Regions from separate parts of the Homo sapiens genome. Here region 1 is linked to region 2. Evidence: promoter capture Hi-C in 16 types of primary human blood cells and fetal thymus (Javierre and others, 2016). All regions are on one chromosome and are shown on one strand. The core of a region is centred on a gene start or on the middle of the fragment in contact, and the rest is flanking DNA. Distances in the headings are between cores, read along the strand shown. Region 1 overlaps LAG3 (lymphocyte activating 3). Region 2 holds the start of PIANP (PILR alpha associated neural protein).

Region 1 (3,467 bases), core at 337-2,836, 77 kb before region 2:
AGTGACCACTGGGTGGCAGTGTGTTCTCATGCCTGGGACCAGAAAAGCCTCCAAGGGCTGAGGAACGTGGGGGGTGGGGCAGAGGTAGGAGCCCCAGCCGGCTGCCCAGAGAGGTTTCCAGACCGGATCTCCTGGAAGACTTGACAAGGCAGTCCTCTGCGCGCCGCGCGTGTGTGTGTGTGTGTGTGTGTGTGCGTGTGCGCGCGCGCGTGTGTGTGCATGTGTGTGTGCACGTGCGCGCGAGCATATGTGCGCATCTGCTGCAGCCGGAGGGCCAAGGACAAGTGCTGAAGTGCAGCTGAGTGTGGGGTGGGGTGGACCCAAAGGACAAAAATATCAAGGAAACCAGGGCAGCCAGCGCACTGTGGGTGGAAGGTGGGTGGAAGGACGGAGGAGAGAGCTGCGGAGGCAAGGGGCAAGGGCTTTTTCGGGGGAGCTTCAGAGAAATGATTACCCAGGAGAGAGAAAGAGAGAGTGAGCGCAAGAGAGAGAGAGACCAAGAAAGAAACACGAAGCAGCCAGAAACAGAAAAGGGGAAGGTGAGGGAGGCTGGCTGGGGAAAGTAGGTTAGGAGGCTAGGGTGGGAGAAGGGAGCCCTCAGAGGCTGGGGAGAGACGGGAACCTTCACTTGGACAAGAAAGAGCCAGACTCAGGCTTGCTGCTGACAGGGAGTTTATTTGGACTGGGCTGCTGAGATCTGCTGGCTGCCTCAGCTCCAGGTCAGAGCTGCTCCGGCTCGGGCTCGGGCTCGGGCTCCGGTTCCGGCTCCGGCTCCGGCTCCGGTTCTTGCTCCAGCTCCTCTATCTTGCTCTGAGCCTGCGGAGGGTGAATCCCTTGCTCTAAGGCAGAAAATCGTCTTGGTCGCCACTGTGAGAAGAGATGGAGAGAGAGACGGAGGGCGGAAGGAGGAGAAGGATGAAGGGAAGCGGATGAGGAGGGACACTGAGTCCCTCTATTTTTTCTCAGCGCCCCTGCCCTCCCCATCTGGTCCTGGCTTTCTCCCAACCCCCCTTCCAGCCTACCCAGGCACAAGCCATCCCTGGAGTGAGAGGCTTATGAAGAAGGGGGGCTCTGAGGGCAAGTTCAGGGTCCCATTTGGTCACCTTCCTGAGGAAGGGGTGCCATCAGCACTCTGAGGATGGAAGAGCGGGAGCTGCTGGGGGGCGGGGTTGCCATGTCCCTGGCTCACCTGTCTTCTCCAAAGGTGAAAGCCAAAGGCTCCAGTCACCAAAAGGAGCAGAGAAAGGACACCAAGGATGAGAAACAGCAGGAGGTGGCCTGCTGGGAGGGCACCTGGGGCTCTCCCAGAGCGTTGGGCACCTATGGAGAAAGTACAGGATGAGGCATAGGGTCAGGACTAGAAAGGACACTTTGTCATTCTCTCAGACTTTACAGATGCAATGAGATCCAGAGAGTTTAAGGGACTTGTCCCAGGGTCATTCAGCTGATCAGTGGCGGAAACGGGTCAACCCTAGGCAAAAGCCAGAGATCAGGTCCCTGACTGGAAAGAAAAGCGCTGGGATGGGGGTGGCAGGGGCTGTTCTGGAAGGAGGATAAAGATTATTGCTGTGGCGTTTGGGTCCTGGCATTCTGGGGCCTCGGACCTGGGCTAGACAGCTCTGTGAAGTACACTGCTGCTCCAAGAAGCCTCTCCCCCTGGTACAGCTGGCATTGCCAAGGCTGGGAAAGGAGCTGGGCCTCCTGTGCCTCCAGCCAAGGTCCTGAGAAACTCCTCTGGGATGGGGTGTCCAGAGAGCTCCACACAAAGCGTTCTTGTCCAGATACTGGAGTCACCTCACAAAGCAGCTTCCCCAGGGATCCAGGTGACCCAAAGGATTTGGGAGTCACTGAAAAGAGTAGAAGGAAGAGATCTTTTGGGATTCTGCCCCCCTTACGTGATATCACAGGTTGAACCCCAAGTCTCAATCACCCTGCACTCACTTGGGTTCTGGCCAGGGGAGGTTGGGGAAGGACATCATGGGTCATGGCCACGTTCATCTTTTTCTTTCTATTTATTTTTTTATTAAATTGTATACAGATGCGTTTTCACCATGTTGCCCAGGCTAGTCTGGAATTCCTGGACTCAAGTGCTCCTCTCGTCTCAGCCTTTCAAAGTGCTGGGATTACAGGTGTGAGCCATCATGCCCTGCCGGCCACATTTATCTTATTCAGACAATGCTCTAGTCAGCTCCCTCCCCTGCTCAAAACATTTCCAGGCTCCCTACTGCCTTCACACTCAAACTGGCCCTGGCAGACCACAGAATAAATACTATTACAGATTCTTTTACATTACTTTCTACTCAAATGCTCAGAACCCTCAAAATCAGTCAGATGAGCTGACCCCCATCTACTTCACAATTTTGGAACTTCCATGATGCGGCTCACATCAGTGTCCCCTGCCTTGTGGTGCCCCCTGAATGAACATCATCCCCCTTTCTGAAGGTATAGAGAACAGGGAACTGACCCATTCATCTAGAGACAGAGCATTCTCCAAGTTGTAAAGTGAGAGATGGGTGGGTGGGAGGAGACAAAGGGTGAAGGGCATCTGAGTAGTGTCCTGGAGAGTGATTTGGTGATGCAGACACCTGAGTTTAGACCCAGAGTCTGGCACTTCCCAGCTGTTTTGAGAAAGTCTTCGGGGTAACAGTATCTCTCTCATTGAGCCGTCTACATAAAACAGTTGACCTTCAAGAGGGCATTGGACAGAAAGAACTGGTGGACTTTGATGACTGATGGGATGTAGAGAGGAGGAGGCCAGGTTTCGAGGTGGATGGATACCAGTGGATTACTGACAGGCTGAGTCAGCAAGGGGATTGGTGGGAGAAAAAGCTGGGGTTCAGGGTAAGGCGGCTGAGAGGTGGTATAACATCTAGTTAGAGGTATCCAGAAAGCAAGTGAAAACTCAGGATTGGCCTTCAGGAGATGTATTATCCATTAGCATGTTCACGTATTCATTCAATCTCTATACATTATTAAGCACCTGCCGTGGGGTGCTACTACTGAGTGGCCGCAGGTGCGTGCTGCAGACATGGCTAATCTGTCATGGCCGATAGTTATCAACCAGTCAACACATACTCTCTGAGTATTCTTTTTTCTGTGTTTGTTTTATACTGTCTTGGAAAACCCTTGCTCAGTAAATATTTGCTGACCAAGGGACGGATTTATTCACTCCTCCCAAATCCAGGCCACTTCCTGCAACTCTAACCCAAGCCCTGGCTGCAAAGTAGACAAGGATTCTAGAAATATATTCTACCTCTTTCGAACCATTCAGAATTTTTGTCACCTTTCCTTCTAACTTCCCAGACCCTCCCGCCAATTGAGAGCAGGGGAGTCCCATAGAGAACGGTGGAACTTTTATCTTGTGACTCAAGAGGAGATTTTCAGTTTCGTTTCTTTATTATGGGGGTGAGAAAAGTGGGGGCCGAGATGGGCAGGCTCTGGAACTTGTGCCCAGTGGCCTGGCATCA
Region 2 (3,667 bases), core at 471-2,970:
TGTATGAGGTGGGTACAGGCTGGTGGGCTTCTCCTTACAAGGAGTTCAGATTTATTCCAAGTGTAATGAAAAACCACTCGAATATTTTAAGCAGAGAAGAGCATGACATGCTTTTGATTTTTAAAATATTATCAATATAGGAAAAACTAGTTTGTAAAGACAAGGGCAGAAGCAGGGACCAGTGAGGAAGCTATTATGATAATCTGGATGAGACATGATGGCTTAGACCAAGACTATAGCAATAAAGATAGAAGGAGATGAATTCGGGATATATTTTGGACGCAGAGCCCACAGGACTTGTTGGTGAATTAGATACAGGGAGAGAATCAGTGAAAAAAAGGGGAAGGGAGGGATGTTTCCTAGATTTTTAGCCTGAACAACTAGTAGTTGTGAAGCCTCAGGATGGGGATCACTGGGAGAAAAATGGATTGGGGGTGGGGGAATTCAAGACATCTATTTTAGTCAAGTTAGCTTTGCATGGCTATTAGACATCCAAGTGGAGATGTCAAGTAGGCTGTCGGATAAATGAGTCTGGCGCTCTGGATATAAATTTAGGACTCACTGACATTTACATAGTATTTAAGCCCTGGGACCGGATGAGATCACTGGACAGAGAATGTGGAAAGAGAGAATGGCCAAGGACTAAGCCCTAGGAGGCTCCAACATTTAGAGGTCACCCGAGGAAGACTAAGAACAGTCAGTGAGGTTGGAGGGAAATGAGGAGAGTGTGGTGTCCTGGAAGTGCCCTGAGGAAAAACAGCGTAGTGTGGTAGAGAGGGATGGGATCCAGGTGGTGGGAGAAGGGGCAGGAGAGGCTACTTTTGATAGAGACATTAGGGAAGGCCTCCCAGAAGGCGTTGGATCTAAGTGAGACTGGAATGAAAACAGTAAGTCATTGTGAAAAGCCAGGGAAATGTATTACTGAGGGAACAGCAAGTGCAAAGGCCCTGAGGCAGGTTAAACCTGTCTCCAACCAGGAAATCCACCAGGTCCCATGTGGCTGAAGCATAGAAATCTTTAGGAAAGGCAATCAGAGAGCCACCTAAGAGCCAGGTTATATAGGGTCTTGTAAGTCACAGCACGGAGTCTAGGTATTCCAGTGCTGGAAAAGCCCAGGAATTTCGACGTGATCCACTTAATGCATGGTAGCAGGGCCAGAGTGAAATAGGGGATCAAGCTGTGGGGATAATCCAAAGATGGTGCAAGGTCCTTCCTCCCCAGTCCTTTCCTCCACCCCTTGCCCCCAGCCTTGACCTCAGGCACTTTCTACAGCGGGCAAAACCAAGTTGGGGGACAGGCAGTGGTGACTCACGCCTGTAATCCCAGCACTCCGGGAAGCTGAGCGGGAAGGATCGCTTGAGCCCAGGCGTTCGAGACCGGGCTGGGCAACACAGCGAGACCTCATCTCTACAAAACACAATACAAAAGAACAAAGTTGGGAATGCAGAGCATTGAGTGACTCAGAATCTCAGAAACTGACTGAGGCGACCATGGGTGTCCCTGGAGTTGGGGTGAAGGAGGTGGGGAGACTGCCATCAGAACCCAGGGAAGCGGACGGTCGCTGGACCCTGCCAGCCTCTTCAGCCCTCCACCTGGGACATAGCCTGGCTTGACTCCTGCAGCGCGGCAGCAGGAGGGTTAAACCGTGCGTGGCCTCCGGCGCGGGGGGGAGGCGGAGACGGAGACGGAGCGGTCCCAGCCGCCGCGCCGAGCCCAGCCGAGCCGAGCCGAGCCGAGCCGAGGCGAGCATCTCCCACCGCCGCCGCCCCGCGCCCCAGGCGCCCGCCCCCCACCCGCTCCAGCGCCCTGCCGCGGGCCAAACCTCCCCACCATGCCCCGCACCCCGCCCGCTCCTGCGACCCCCCAGCCCCGCTCAGTCCCGAGCGCCCGCAGTCGTCGCGCCGCCGCGCCAAGCATGCAGGTGAGTGAGAGGGACCCCCACGCCCCCACCCGCGGGGAGCCCGGCCCTGCCCTTCCCGGCTCCGCGCCCTGCGCCTCCTGCCCCTCCCGACGCGGTCCCTCGCCCGGGACAAGGCCTCCAGCCTCCCAGCGCCCCTTCCCCGAAGGGCTCTCCATCCCTCCGCGGTCCTGGCTCGCTCCCGCCCTCCCTGGCGCAGCCGTCCCCGTCCCCGCGGCTGCCTCCATCCCGCCTCGGCTCGGCGGGCGGCTCCGCGCAGTCTCCTGCTTCGGGTCCCCAGTCCGCTCTCGGCACTCCCTGCCTCGGGGTCCCTTCGCCGACCTCCTTTTCCTCGTCTCCCCCCACTCTCGCCGCTCTCCAGCCCTGTGCGGGGAGTGCGGGCCTGCGGGATGGGTGGGATGGGGGCCACGCTGGGGCTGGGGCCCGGCTCCCGCACCCCGAGGCTCCTGCCCCACCCCCAGCTCGTCTCCTGCGCACAACAGGTCGGTGAGAAGCTGGGAGAGGGGTGGGGGTGGCGCGCCAGCCCGGGGACTGCGGGCTTCCTGGAGGGGGCGGCTGAAGCTGTGCGGGGCCCAGGGACTGGGTTGGCGCTGGCTGGGGGTGGGGATGCACAGGCGGAGGGGCGATAGTCCTAGAGTCAGCTGGCCACAGATGCGCCCTGGGAGCCCTTCTCCGCTTCACTGGTTCGCTCTACACGCCTCGCTCCCTCCCTCTAGCTTTCTTCCTTTCCCCTCTCTCTCCCTTCTTCCCACCATGCCCCCATCCCTATGTCTTTCGGTATCTCCACATCCCTTTACATTTGGGGGAGCAATTCCGAACTCCTCCATCTTTGCTGCTCCCGCCTCTGCTTCCCAGCCCGTTCCTCGTGTCATTTTTCCTTAAGCATTTATGTTCTCTCCTTCCCCACTTCCTTTCTCCCCATCCTGGGCTTTCCCCCCTTTTCTCCCATCCCCTTACTCTCCACTCCTCTGGCTGTCCTGCCTGGACCGCTCTCTCCTTCTCCTCCTGCCCCTTCTTCCCCTGCACCTGTGACCCCTTCATCCTCTCCGTTTCCCCTCCCTGACCTTTTCTCTCATCCTTTCCTCCCTTCGGCATCCTCCACAGTTCGAGTCTTCTGTACCCACTCTCCTCCTCTCTTCCCAGTTCTCTCTTTTTCAGGACTGCCTGCTCTCTCTCACCCTGCACTCCAGGCCAGCTTCCTCTTCACATTTCTCCTCTCTCACTCTTAACCAGCCTTCCATCTCCCAGCCCTTCACCCCTTCCCATCTCTCCCACTGCCTGCTTCCCCACGCCCTTCCCGTGACTTTCCCATCTTGTTCCCTTGTTGTTCTCTGGGAAGATTCAATGGGCAGATTTATTTATTTTATTTTTTGAGTCGGAGTCTCGCTCTTGTTGCCCAGACTGGAGTGCAATGGTGTGATCTCAGCTCACTGCAACCTCCGCCTCCCAGGTTCAAGGGATTCTTCTGCCTCAGCCCTCTGAATAGCTGGGATTGCAGGCGCCCACCACTACCCCCGGCTAATTTTTGTATTTTTAGTAGACACGGGGTTTCACTATGTTGGCCAAGCTAGTCTCGAACTCCTGATCTCAGGTGATCCACCCGCCTTGGCTTCCCAAAGTGCTAGGATTACAGGCGTGAGCCACTGCGTCTGGCCCATTGGGCAGATTTAGACCCAGAATCCACAGGAAACGGGTATCCTATCTTCACTCCCTCTGGGGAGCCTGCCCCTCCTGGATCCACCACCCTCA

Evidence for each region. The method cuts DNA at HindIII sites, captures the fragments that hold promoters and counts their contacts. A CHiCAGO score of 5 or more calls a contact.
Region 1: a fragment that was not itself captured here is called in contact with the fragment with the promoter of PIANP in region 2 in 10 of 17 cell types (activated CD4 T cells, naive CD4 T cells, naive CD8 T cells and 7 more); the score reaches 9.8 in activated CD4 T cells.

What each region holds. Positions count from the first base shown.
Region 1 is chr12:6,775,644-6,779,110 of GRCh38, reverse strand. LAG3 (lymphocyte activating 3) reads right to left here. Exons shown (of 8, transcript NM_002286.6): 6 at 1,605-1,847; 7 at 1,190-1,320; 8 at 656-867. The coding sequence ends at 721. Among named protein-coding and RNA genes, the nearest start is that of LAG3, 4.9 kb to the right of the region's middle. RefSeq lists enhancers at 1-146, 349-398, 147-797. The HindIII fragment of the contact is 5,544 bases long and covers 1-3,467 here.
Region 2 is chr12:6,698,868-6,702,534 of GRCh38, reverse strand. It overlaps PIANP (PILR alpha associated neural protein), which reads left to right and starts at 1,720. Exons shown (of 5, transcript NM_001244014.2): 1 at 1,720-1,921. RefSeq lists an enhancer at 2,439-2,940. The HindIII fragment of the contact is 12,862 bases long and covers 1-3,667 here.